Linked DNA regions of Homo sapiens: all the other regions are linked to region 2. Evidence: promoter capture Hi-C in 16 types of primary human blood cells and fetal thymus (Javierre and others, 2016). All regions are on one chromosome and are shown on one strand. Each heading gives the region's core, a stretch centred on a gene start or on the middle of the fragment in contact. The rest is flanking DNA. Distances are from core to core; before and after follow the strand shown.

The links. Contacts are between HindIII fragments. The CHiCAGO score rates a contact against its expected background, and 5 or more counts as called.
Region 1: a fragment that was not itself captured here is called in contact with the fragment with the promoter of CD247 in region 2 in 1 of 17 cell types (fetal thymus); the score reaches 5.1 in fetal thymus.
Region 3: a contact is called between a fragment that was not itself captured here and the fragment with the promoter of CD247 in region 2, in 8 of 17 cell types (activated CD4 T cells, total CD4 T cells, neutrophils and 5 more). The highest score is 7.2, in activated CD4 T cells.

What each region holds. Positions count from the first base shown.
Region 1 is chr1:167,713,623-167,717,944 of GRCh38, reverse strand. TRP-CGG1-1 (tRNA-Pro (anticodon CGG) 1-1) reads right to left here and starts at 3,220; the gene lies at 3,149-3,220. TRP-AGG2-1 (tRNA-Pro (anticodon AGG) 2-1) reads left to right here and starts at 2,386; the gene lies at 2,386-2,457. RefSeq lists silencers at 3,100-3,199, 3,500-3,739 and enhancers at 4,210-4,322, 3,864-4,322. The HindIII fragment of the contact is 8,006 bases long and covers 1-4,322 here.
Region 2 is chr1:167,516,850-167,521,092 of GRCh38, reverse strand. CD247 (CD247 molecule) reads left to right here and starts at 2,564. Exons shown (of 8, transcript NM_198053.3): 1 at 2,564-2,685. The coding sequence starts at 2,628. It also overlaps the pseudogene AKR1D1P1. RefSeq lists enhancers at 2,733-3,932, 3,204-4,167. The HindIII fragment of the contact is 3,961 bases long and covers 1,006-4,243 here.
Region 3 is chr1:167,275,975-167,280,581 of GRCh38, reverse strand. The region is part of intron 1 of POU2F1 (POU class 2 homeobox 1); the gene reads right to left. LOC124900412 (a long non-coding RNA gene) reads right to left here. Exons shown (of 2, transcript XR_007066718.1): 2 at 1-4,607. Among named protein-coding and RNA genes, the nearest start is that of POU2F1, 57 kb to the right of the region's middle. The HindIII fragment of the contact is 3,600 bases long and covers 344-3,943 here.

The DNA.
Region 1 (4,322 bases), core at 924-3,423, 200 kb before region 2:
GGCTGAGGCGGGAAAATTGCTTGAACCCGGGAGGCGGAGGTTGCAGTGAGCTGAGATTGCGCCACTGCACTCCAGCCTGGGTGACAGAGCAAGACTTCCGTCTCGGAAAAAAATAAAAAAGAATGAGCAATGAATGAATGAATGAATAAACCGATGAATGTATGACATATGAAATAAAATTAATGAATAGGTCTATTTAAGATAGTCACTCTGTCTACTTGTTTCCTATCTGGTTGGTTATTTGCTAGAATGACAATTCACAATTACTGTTTGTCAATGTGTTTGTCAACGTGTTAGGGAAGCAGCAGCCTAGGAAAGCTAGAATAATGCCATTTTAAGTTCAGCTCCATTTTAGGACTAACAAGGCACATTCCTTGCCTGCCACGACCCATAGTCATGGGATGTTTATAATTAAGGAAACAGCCTGAAGATAACTAGGACTGACTCCTACAACAGCAAGAAGTCCAAATGTCCTAATATCTACAACAATATATGCCTTTAAGATAATCACAGTTATGCTTTTACGTATTCACACACTAAAATGTCAATAATTGTCTTCTTTAAATCAACAGAGTAACAAAATTTGTCATGTTGTCTGCTCACCCGTATGTAGGCACAGCTTAGCCTAGCTTTTACATAGGTAAGATCACTATATAAGAAAAACTTAAGAACGGGGTGTTTCTCCTCCTACTTTCTGAGAACATCCTGCTCTGTAACAGAGTAGTTTCCAATAAACTTGCTTCTTTCACCCTGAATTCTTTCCTGCACGAGATCCAAGAACCCTCTCTCCAGGTTCGGTGAAGACCCCTTTTTCCGGCAACAAAAGTACTAAAATGCAGTGAGCCATGATCATGCCACTGCACTCCAGCCCGGGCGACAGAGTGAGACCCTGTATCAAACAAAAAACACCTAAAATTCGTATTGTTAAGGAATTTGAGACAAATTGTAATCATTCAGAATCATTCATTGAGCACCAGCTTCCTTATGATAAGCCTCAATGCTAAGTATTTAAGAATTTAGGGCCAGGCACGGTGGTAATCCCAGCACTTTGGCAGGCCGAGGCAGGTGGATCACGAGGTCAGGAGATCGAGACCATCTTAGCTAACACGGTGAAACCCCGACTCTATTAAAATACAAAAAAAATTAGCCAGGCGTGGTGGCGGGCGCCTGTAGTCCCAGCTACTGGGGTGGCTGAGGCAGGAGAATGGCATGAACCCAGGAGGCGGAGCTTGCAGTGAGCCGAGATCGCGCCACTGCACTCCAGCCTGGGTGACAGAGCTAGACTCTGTCTCAAAAAAAAAAAAAAAAAAAAAAAAAAAAAAAAAAGAAATTAGGCCGGGCGCAGTGGCTCACGCTTGTACTTTGGGAGGCCGAGGAGGGTGGATCAACTGAGGTCAGGAGTTGGAGACCAGCCTGGCCAACATGGTGAAACCCGCCTCTACTAAAAATACAAAAATTAGCTGGGCATGGTGGCAGGTGCCTGTAATCCCAGCTACTCGGGAGGCGGAGAATCGCTTGAACCTGGAGGGCGGAGGGGGCGGAGGTTGCAGTGAGCCGAGATCACACCACTTCTCTCCAGCCTGGCGAAAGAGCGAAGCGAGACAACGTCTCAAAAAAAAAAAAAAAAAAAGAAAGAAAGGAAAAAGAATTTAAAATATAGTTAAGAAGCCATGCTTACTATATCTAATTAAAGATATTGGGACAATCGAACAGCAATCACACAATTGGTTGCCAATTCTACAGTAGAATTTCGTGTTGGTGTAGGTGTCTTGCGCTCTAAGAAGTTACAGTTGGAGGAGATAAGACTGAAACCCAGTTATTTACCACATACTATTGGTTTTGATATGTTAAAGGATCTTTTTCTGGGAAGGTTAGAGTTTGGGATTTGTCCAAAAGCAAACAGGTTTTCCAGCTGAAGAGAACACTTCGAGTAAAAACAGAGATGGGAATTCACAAGGCTAGATAGGTAGGGCTTTGAATATTACAATAAAAAATATCGGCAAGAAACCGAGATTTTAACATTATAGAAAAGTGCGAAAAAGAACGAATGAAACATCCAGAACTCACTCAGTAACGGAGAGAGTCTGGAATCTGCCACAGTGACATTGTCCCACACTAATAGCCATTTATTAGCCATGAATAGAAATACAATTACAATTTTCGAAATAAGAGGTCGATATTATACTGATAGTGACAATTTTGCTGTCTTCTGTGTTACTGATTTTCAAAGAGCAAAACAGAAAAGAAAGAAAATTGAAAACGCGGTATCTATAGAAAGCAAACACAACCCAAAGATCGAATCCTAACATGCGAGCAACCACTTGAGGGCGCAGGACTAAATAGCTATGTGTTCCTTTCTGATGACAGTAAGGTGGAGTTTGTGTCGGCTCGTTGGTCTAGGGGTATGATTCTCGCTTAGGGTGCGAGAGGTCCCGGGTTCAAATCCCGGACGAGCCCTGTTTTGGAGTAAGAATCACTTAAAGGTGAGTTTTTTTGGGGATAGATTACTAAACGTAATAAATACAGGTTGGTCAGAGTAAAACACAAAATTGAGATTTTTGGAAACTTAGAGCACACTCTACATTGAAATACCATTAAAAGGCCTCATTTTGAAAATGTAAAAAGTTTGCTAGTAATGTAGTATTGTACTATGAAAACATTGTCCCTAGCTGTCTATTCCTGGGTGCAGCGCGTGTACAGGGCCATCGGGAGCTCAGTTCTTGGCTGCCTATGGCGTGGTTTAAACTCATCCACGACAGTGCCCCTCATCGGGGGTGGGGATATCTCCTGAGCGCCCCTTTCCTCGGAAATGCTGATTCCCGAACCCCGGGACATGCTAATCCATGACGCCCCCTGCTCGTTTGGAGGAGTTAAAGGCGTGCACAGGATTCCGCACTAGGCGTCTGTTTTTCAAGAGTGTGTGTTTTACATGGTACAAAGCAATTTGAATGCGTTGCCTTTGGGCGTACAGTAACCATATGTTGTATTAATTGAGCTCACATGGTCCCTCGCTTCAAAAAACAAAGGGGATCAACATTCGAGCTCATGGGACCAGTATGTTTTCATTTAAGTTTCTGAATGGAATATGTGGGGAATTAGGGGGAAAAAATCTGTTTTTAAATTTCGGGTGTGGGGTGGGTAAAAGCCTGGGCTCGTCCGGGATTTGAACCCGGGACCTCTCGCACCCGAAGCGAGAATCATACCCCTAGACCAACGAGCCGCTCTCGGCAAGGGCACTCCCAGAGCTTCCCTTCAGCCTTGTTCCGCCTCTCACCTCGTGTTCCGAGCAACCACGACCTGCGACCCTTATACTGCGTGTCCTCTGATTCCCTAAGCCTCGGGTCCGGAGCGCTTACTGCCCCACAGCGTGGAGGAGCAGGGAGGGACCGGCTTTTGCCTGGTCCGGCCGTTCCAACCCCCCATCGCCGGCGTGGCCTCCACGTTCGCACGCGCTCCCGGAAGCCGCCTTCCGGCTTACGGGCTCGCCCCGGCTGTTCCACTCGCAGTGTTGGCGGGCGCCCGGGAGCCCGGGCTGAGGAAAGTGCGGGGCGGGGCAGGGCGCCTCAGGACGCAGCCCGGTGCCAAGTCCCGGCGGCGCCCCGCCCGCGCCCAGCCCGTCAGTGCACGCAGAGCTGGGCCTGCTCGCTCCGCGAGTGGGTCGGTGAATGAAGACGGGGAGTCCGAGCGAGGGAAGGGAATACCCGAATCCTGGCTAAGAAAGGGGTGGTGGGAGACGAAATCCCATAGGAGTGAATATTAAGTTAACTCCCCGAACCTTCATTTGGGGATAGTGCACTCTTTTAAGCCCTTTGCTTGTATTGAACTCACCTGATATTCGTAATAATCCCCTAGGTGCCATTGTATCTCCATTTGCAGATGAGGAAACTGAGGCTCAGAGATGTTAAGTCGCTCACATAAATCCACTGGGCTAGGAGCTGGCGGTGGCGCTGGTCTAGGAACTCCCGAGGTCCTGGAGGGTGGGACAACTGGGGGCTGGGGCGTGTGAAAGGGACTGGAGAGTTGGGGAGAAGATTGGTACCTCGGTAGCTTGGAGAAGAGAGGGCAGTGGCAGTGGGCCGGGTCTTCTCCCTCCCGTCCAGCAGAAAATGTGGGCCTGCCCTACTGCTCTTCTGCTCAGAGGAGCGGGAGTCCGAGTGCGGGGTCTCCCGCCGGTGTGGTTTCCCGGCCTGGGGTCTAGCTCGTCTTGCCTGCTTTCCGGACTGCTCTCACCGCTTCCCCCCACTTCACGACCCCAGCCCGCCACTCTGCACTCCGGCTCCTTGCAGTCTGTGGCCAAGTTGCAGACGTCCCTTATTTCTAAA
Region 2 (4,243 bases), core at 1,315-3,814:
ATGCATGTCTGGATCTTATCTTGGCTGTGTCTGTATTGCAGTCAATGGTTCAAGTCCTCAAGGCCACTGCCAGCACCCTGGCACATGGGGGCCCTCTGCTGTCTTTGTTGTCCTGTTGACTGCTAAAGAACTCAGGCTAACAATGTTACTACCCACATTCATGAGTTACTTGTTGCTGGTTGTCATCTGTTGCCTTTCAAGTCTTTTCTGGAATCTAATTGTTTTTTGTTTGTTTGTTTGTTTTGTTTTGTTTTTGGTCTGGAACCCAGAAGACATTTATCTAATAAAATATTAGGTGATAATTTCCTAAGAATTTCAACAGATTTAAACATTTTGTCTTTAACATGGGTGAGTTAAAATCACTTACACTATACAAAAGTTAAGCATGTTTCCATCACCACTTTTCAGATAATAAAACCTCTTTCATTTCCGTGTCCATGGGGAACTATGCACCCTAAGGTCCTCCACACGTGGGAGGGGAGAATCTGTTCAGGAACTCTCTGAAGTCAGTATTCATCAAGAAATGGGTATTTGGGATGATCACACCACATGAGCATTTCTATGAAGCGGACATTTTCACTCCAGGCTTCAATGTCCTTGATTCAGTGAGAGAAAAGTCAAAGGCCTGAAGGTTTTCCTTGATCTTTTCAGGATTAAAGCTTTTAGGAATGACAACCACCCCTTGCTGGATGTTGAAACGCAAAATAACTTGAGCTGTGATCTTATTGCACCTTTTTAGAAGTGCATCCTTTAACGAAGGCAGAGAAGACATATTTGTCCAGGTTGGATTCCTAGTGGTCCCCAAAGGGCTATATGCAATCATGACAATGTCATGTTGTTGGCGAAATTTCAAAAGTTTTGGTTGGGTGTAATATGGGTGGCACTCAACCTCGTTGCTGACTGGCTTGGGTTTGAGTCCTGGGTTGTTCTGGATGAGCTCCAGCTGGCCTGCTGTTAAAACTGGATACTCCGAGGGATTTCACCAAGCCAGCATCTTTACAAGCTTCCGAAGTCTCCCAAGTGGCACACAGATTTGACTTGTGATATAACCATTTGCCATTCTCACCTATAGGGTAGATTTTGTCTTCTGGCTTAGCGGCCATGGGTATTTCAGTGATGTAAAGATCCACACAATCTAGCTGGAGGACCTTGAGCATCCTCTCTAGGCTCGGGCAGACCAGCTCTGGGTTGTGATTTGTAGCCCACAGTTTTCCACAGTAGAAGATATCCTTCCTCTGCACCTTTCCTTCTGCTATTTTCCCCCTGATGGCCTCCCCAGCTGTGTCTTCATTTTGGTATATGTAGGCTTCATCAGTGTGTCAGCACCCCAGACCAATGACAACCTTCACTGATGAAGACTCAGACTAAATGTAGAGACAGACTACTTGGGCTGTAGTGACATCTCTACCTACCACCTACTTGCTGTGTGGCCTTGAGTAAGTCATCGGCCCCCTTAGGGGTCAATTTAGGCTCTGAGTAGGTACCAAGTCTGATGATGGGAATGCTGTTTCCATCACTTAGAGGTATGCGGTGATTTGCAGGACTCACTTTCTTCATAGTGTCCTTTGATGCACAAAAACTTTTAATTGTGATGAAGTCCAATTTATCAATTTTATGTTGGATTGCTGTGACTTTGGATTATTGGCTATTCTTGTACATTAATTTTTTTCATATCAATTTTGGAATCAGCTTAACTTGTTCTAAAACTTTTTGTTGGTATTTTCAATGAAATAGATTGATTAATTAAGAGAGAATGGTGGTCTCCTTAAAAGAGAGCTTCCTATCAAAGAAGGGTATGCCTTTCCATTTACCCAAGTCCTTTCGGCGTTCTTCAGCAATGTTTTAAAGTTTGTTTCATATAGATATATTACAATTTTTAGACGAAGTTTATGTCTAGGTTTTAATGTTTTATTATTGTAAATTACTCTGGTGTTTAAATGTTGACAACTAACACAAGTGTTTAAAATACTATGTGAGCTACAGTATTTCACACAATGATCCAAATTCAGGCCAAGTTCAGATCTGCAACCTCAGATCTACTCCAGCTCTTTGCTTTATAGATAAGGAAGCTGAAGTCTAGAGATGTTGAGTGACTGACTCAACGCCACACAGCAAGTAGGTGGTAGGCAGAGATGTCACTAAAGCCCAAGGAATCTGTCTCTACATTTGTCCTGGACTCTAATCCAGGGTTCTGTCATTTTGCCAGCCACCATAAAATATTTGACAGTCTAGGAAAACAGCAAATGTTCTTACATCCATCGAGAACTTGTATTTGCCTAGAGATGGACTTTACCAATCAAGATAGGAATTAGATAAGAATTATTTTTTTTAAAAAAAGGAGCATTAAAACAATGGTCAAATGAGAGAAAAAGCAAAATTCAGACAGACAGATACATACACACACCCCAAACCCTCAAACCTCCAGGGCTTCCTGCCTGTGAACCGAAAGGGGGAGTGCGAATTTCTTGGCCCTGTCGGCAGGTGCTTTCTCAAAGGCCCCACAGTCCTCCACTTCCTGGGGAGGTAGCTGCAGAATAAAACCAGCAGAGACTCCTTTTCTCCTAACCGTCCCGGCCACCGCTGCCTCAGCCTCTGCCTCCCAGCCTCTTTCTGAGGGAAAGGACAAGATGAAGTGGAAGGCGCTTTTCACCGCGGCCATCCTGCAGGCACAGTTGCCGATTACAGGTAGGGCCGACGTGTCGACGGCAGGGAACTTCTAGAAACTCTTTGTGTATGTGTAGGGGAGTGGGTGTGGGTAGTGGAGGGTGGTGAGGGGCTGGGGTCTCCTTCAAATCCTGCCCTCCTCAAATCAATGGGCAAGTGAGCAGTGAGGGGTCCGGCCCGGTGCTGGCATCTGCTCCGTCACAGCCGAGTTGGGCATCAGTTCAGAGCCAGCTGCTAGAATACACAGCTCCTCCAGGTACAGATTTTTCGAGTGATAAGAGAGGAAGGAAGAAGGAAGCAAGAGAGCAACCGAGGCAGGCCCAGGGTAGAGAAACGGAGAGGGAGTGTTTCACAGAAGCTGGACAGGATCGGAAAATGTCAGCCAGGCCATGTTTCGTGCTGCGACGTTCTAGTCCCTTCAGCTTCTTTCACCCTCTGGCTGGCTCCGTCACTCAGCCCCTTTCTTTCTTCCTTTGCCAACAAAGAAGATTTTGTTGGTCAGTCAAGGTCATGGCCTGAAACACTCCAATGGGCCCGGGAGTAAGTGGGGTAACCAAGGAGGAGAGGGGCACAGGCAGGAAGCACCGGGTGGCAGCCTCCACAGCGCCTTCGCCACCTCATGGCCAAGCGTCCGTGTCTAGGCTCAGCCTTGTCATGGCTGTCCCCACACCCACGCCTGGGACTGCCGGGTGACGCACCATCCCAGGCTCCGTGACTCACCCCAGCCTGCCCCTTAGGCGGCCATCTAGCCCAGCCAGAGGGCCCGGCATTGACAGAACACGGGGCAGATGAGACGATGTGCCTGGTTAAGTCACCACCACGAGCAGCGCCCAGCCAACAAGAGTGCTTGCTCCTCACCTCATTCCCGATCGTGGGAGCCCAGCTTTGCTGCAAGCCTTTAGCTTCCACCATGTTTTCTAGCCCAGGTAATGAGGAAGAAAACCAGTGAAAAGAGGACAGGACAAACTGCTCAGGGGGATCAGCCTCGTGGCATCTTCCTGAGAAGTGGGGCAGGCTGAATTTCAATCTAAAGAAACAGGGAAGGTGAAGCAAGCAAATGTCCTCGGCCCACCTGATCGCTCCTGGTAACTCACCTGGGTGTGGGAATTTGTTTAGGGGCCCTGTTGGGAGGGCAGGAGAGGCCATGGGCACTTCTGCTCCCACCAGGGAGCCAGGCACAGCCCGGGCCAGCGCCTCGGGGGATTCTGAGGCCCGTGCAGCTGCAGGGGTTTCTGTCAGGTCACAGCTGTTTTCTCAGAAAAGCCTTGTGGGGTCTAAGTCACACACACAGTGTGGCAGAGTGAGGGTGCCTGAGCTTGCTCAGAGCAGCCCATCCTTGTGTGCTGGGGACAAGGGGACCCAGAACGCTGGAATTTAGTGACTTCAGGGGAGACAGCCAGGGGCAATAGCTCCAGCCTCTGAGCTTCAGGCTTGAGACACCACACCAGGGAGCTCATATAACCTTTCAGGGTCTTTACCTGCAGTTTCCTCACTGGTCCATTTGTGTTCGGCTTGGAGAGACCAAGGTAGGGGCAAAGTGAAGTTAGAAAGAAAAATGAAAGATTGTTGGGTGGCGGTG
Region 3 (4,607 bases), core at 894-3,393, 240 kb after region 2:
GTAAAAGCCCAGTGTTGCCTATCGTTTTAAAGGTAACTGTCATAATACTGTTCATACCTTTAGGTAATTCTGGCTGACACTGATACAGGATGACTGACTATAGAAACTGTTTTATTGAGAGCCTAACATGTTCACTAGTGGGAAGTGTTCAGAGTTATTTTTCCACATTCTCCAAATGAATAGACTAGCTATAAAAACTAAAAGTCTGAAAAAAAAAAAAACCCTACATAACAGTAATGGCAATAAAATCTCTCTTTAAAAAAAAAAATCAAGCTCAAACACCAAGCATATTTGCTACATATCATGTCCACTTTTATTTTCATAAGATCTGGAGAGGAAAGCTTTATTATTTCTGATATCACACATTTACAATAAGTTTTTTTTTTTTTTCCCCGAGACAGAGTATCACTCTGTCGCCCAGGCTGGAGTGCACAATCTCAGCTCACTGCAACCTCCACCTGCTGGGTTCGAGCGATTCTCCTGCCTCAACCTCCAGACTAGCTGAGATTACAGGCGCCTGGCTAATTTTTGTATTTTCAGTAAAAACGGGGTTTCACCATGTTGGTCAGGCTGGTCTCAAACTCCCGACCTCAGGTGATCTGCCCACCTCGACCTCCCAAAGTGCTGAGATTACAGGAGTGAGCCACTATGCCCTGCCAACAATATGGTTTTAAATACAAATCATTTTGTCAAGTCAGAGTGCTTATCCTATGTTTCCAAACATAGTTTCCATGAATCACTTTTTTCTCAATCTAGACAAGTAAACCTGCTTGCTAACCCTTCCAGAACTTAAGTTCCATCCATCATCTGTCCCCACCCAACTCCCATCAATATTTATTCCCTCTGGAACATATGGTTTTTTTTGAGATGGAGTCTCGCTCTGAGGCCCAGGCTGGAGTGCAGTGGTGCAATCTCAGCTCACCGCAATCTCCGCCTCCAGGGTTCAAGCAATTCTCCTACCTCAGCCTCCCAAGTAGTTGGGATTACAGGTGTGAGCCACCATGCACGGCCCCCTCTGGAACATTTAAGCTGCAGTTCCCTCTACCAAGAATCACATTTTTCCTCTGTTCTAAGTCATAACTCTTCTCACCTTTAAAATATTACTCAAGCTCATATAACTAAATTATCAAGAATTTCTATATTTATCTGGATTGCGAGGGTAGGTCACACATTATTCTCTTAACTCTGTTACATGTTCTGTCATGGGGGGACACAACATCAATAAGAAAAATGATCTTTTTCATAAACTTACTTTTGATAACTTGTAACAGCTCTTGTCTGCATCACAGGGCAGAGGTCAGTTGCATTACATTATAAAACAAAAGACTGAATTTCTTTATCCATGTTAATTAAACCTTTTTTATTCACGTTTGCTATATCTCATCAGTTAACAACATTTGTTACATACCACTACCCATGATTCTGCATATTCTACACATAATGTGTGTTCATTTAACATTATCAGGCGTATGCTGTAAGCACTGTGTACCATTATAATCAGGGGGGAATAGAAGGAAATGGAAGAACATGGAGACACCAATCCTGTTCCAATAGCATTTGAATATCTTTAAGCTGTGTAATTATGTATTCCCCTTAATTTACCTAACTAATTACAATCAAATGAAAAAATATCTTTCAGATGATCATTTTATTTGCAAAGTGTTTTACTTAAAGAATCATACTCAAAGACACAAATATGTACCCATGTGAAATAGGTCTTGAAAACCAAATTTAAAATAAATTCTATTAAAATAGAATTTTATTAAATTCTATTAAAATAGAAAAACAAATGAAGGGGATAGCCAATTAAAGTTTGCAAAATGTCTGGCGTATTGTAAGCACTGAAACGCTTGCTGAAAAGTGAGCTAAGTCAACGTATCTTTTTTTAGAAGACTTGTCAGGACAGGTAAAAATAAAGTTCCCAGACAATCTGAACAGATTCAATTCCACAGCTCAGGAATTAGCTGATTTTACCTGACCTTTAGTTCCTAAACTGTGTCGAATGATAAATGTAACATTATCTTCATCGTTGAAGCCTAATCAGATTATGCTGAGCCCTAAAATTTCCTGAAGCAAAATTTATGGACAAATGACAAATACCCTAGATCTAGAGAAAGGACAAACTCAAGTCATTTAACCATTATCTATGAAATCCCTACCATGTGCCAGGTGCTGGAGATACAGCAGTGAGTAAAGCAGACAAGGTCCCATCCCTCTTGGGAGTTTTCAGTCTCAGAGATACATAATAACAAATTATGATAAATGCTATAAGCAAAAGAACAGAATCTTACAAGACCATATATCAATAATCACTTTTTCTATAGAAACAGTCTTTGTGTTGAGACGTGAAGAATGAAATGGAAATTGACTAAGCAGAGAAGTAAAAGGTCAGAGCATGGTACCTGTGAGAATCTGAACAAAAGTCTCAGTGGCTCAAGTGCAGAGGGTTTGAAAAATAAGAGGGGAGGTGGAGAAGTAGGCCTGGGGAATGTTAGTCTTTATCCTAAGAGTAGCAGGAAATAATGCTATGGAGGAGAATGACATGACTGGATTTGTGTTTTCATAGGATACAGTACCCTAGCTTCAGTGTACAGAACAAATTTAACAAGGATATGGAGGGCTACTATTGTGCTGCAAGGGGGAGATAATCCTACTCAGACTAAGACAGCAGAGAATATGGATTTGAAAATTATTAAAGGATGTCAAATAGACAGGCCTTAGTACAGTAAGAATTTGGGAAGTGAGGGAGAGGGGGTATTAGGAATTACTCCTAAGTCTTTAACTTGGAAAACTGGAATAAAAAAGGTGATGCTATTCACTGACATGTGGGACACCAGAGGATGGCATGCGGCATCAGCGAGTAGTAACTGAGGCCATTGGGATAGATATAATTGCTGGGTCGTAGAATGAAAAGAAATGGAAGCCTAGGACTGAGCTTTCACAAAATCTGACATCTCTGGACAACAAAGGTGGCTGGGGTGAGGTGGCTCATGCCTGTAATCCGAGGCTTTGGAAGGCTGAGGTAGGATCGTTTGAGGTCAGGAGTTCAAGACTGGCCTAGGCAATTTTTTTTTTTTTTTTTTAATTAGCCAGGTATGGTTGACACGTAAAAATGGAGTTAGTTCCCAGACATTCTGAACAGATTCAATTCCAGCTCAGGAACTGGCTGGTTTTACCTGATCTTTAGTTCCTAAACTGTGTCAAATGAACACAGTTACTTAGGAGGCCAAGGCAGGTAGATCACTTAAGCCCAGGAGTGTGAGGTTGCAGTGAGCTATGATTGCGCCACTGCACTCCAGCCTAGGCAGCAGAGCAAGATCCCAACTCTTAAAAAACAAAAAACAAAACAAAACAAAAAACCCAAAGTAGACAAAGCAGGAGTTACCAGAGACATGAGAAGAGAACCGAGAAAGCACGACCTCACAGCTTTCAGGGAAAAAAAGGTTTCACAAAGAGTTGGTGGTTGAGAGTGTCAAACACCACTGAGAGGTCAAATAAGAACAGGTCTGAAAGAATGCTTATTAGATTTCATGACCTGAAGGTCACTGATGATCTTAAGAATACTTCCCAGAATAGTGAACTATTCCATGGCTTAGACTGGCAGTAGAATGCAACAAGAGCACATTCTACTCACTCATTAAACTCCTTTCTTGTTTTCTTTTTTTCTGCCCATCCTTTCTTGCTCTGCACTCTCTCCTGACTTCAATATGGCTTCCTTTCTCATCTTTTTTGTTCTATCTACTCATTTCTTTCTTCTCCATACTTATTGATTTTCTCCTTTGCCTTTCCCACCCTTATTTGATGACAATATGGAACTGAAAATACTTCATTTTTTATTGAATACTTCCATTCTTCCTGTTCTTAATTTTAACACTTTATAATTCAGAATGGTTGAGGATGGTGCTGGTGGCAAAATTTAATTGCTTTTACTTATATGAAAGCTTCAGAATAACTTATCTCAAAGAGTGGGTCAATGGTTTGAACAGGAAATAACGTCCTAAAAAATCAAACTCTTCTTCTATAAGAATATAGTCCCCTCTTATCTGTGGGGGGCACATTCCAAGACCCCCAACTGAAACTGGGGCTAGTATTGAACCCTATATAACACTATGTTTTTCCTATATATATATACCTATGATTAAGTTTAATTTATAAATTAGGCATAGTAAGATTAACAATAAGAATAATAAAATAGAAGTTATAATAATATGTCAGCATCACTACTCTTGCACCTTGGGACCACTATAAGTAAAATAAGTGTTACCTGAACATAGCACTGCAATACAATGATCAGCCAATCTGATAACATAGGCCGCTACTGAATGACTGACAGGCAGGTAGTGTATACAGCATGGGATATACTGAACAAAGGAAAGATTCACGTCCTCGGCAGAACAGAGTGGGATGCCGTGAGATTTCATCTCACTACTCAGAACAGCATGCAACTTAAAACTTATAAATTATGTCTTGGATTTTCCGTTTAATATTTTTGGACAGCAGTTGACTGTGGGAAGCTGAAACCACAGAAAAAGAAACAGCAGATAAAGGGGGACTACTGTTGTCTTCTAGTATAAGCTAAATATTTTGTTCTTAGATCGCTAACTGCT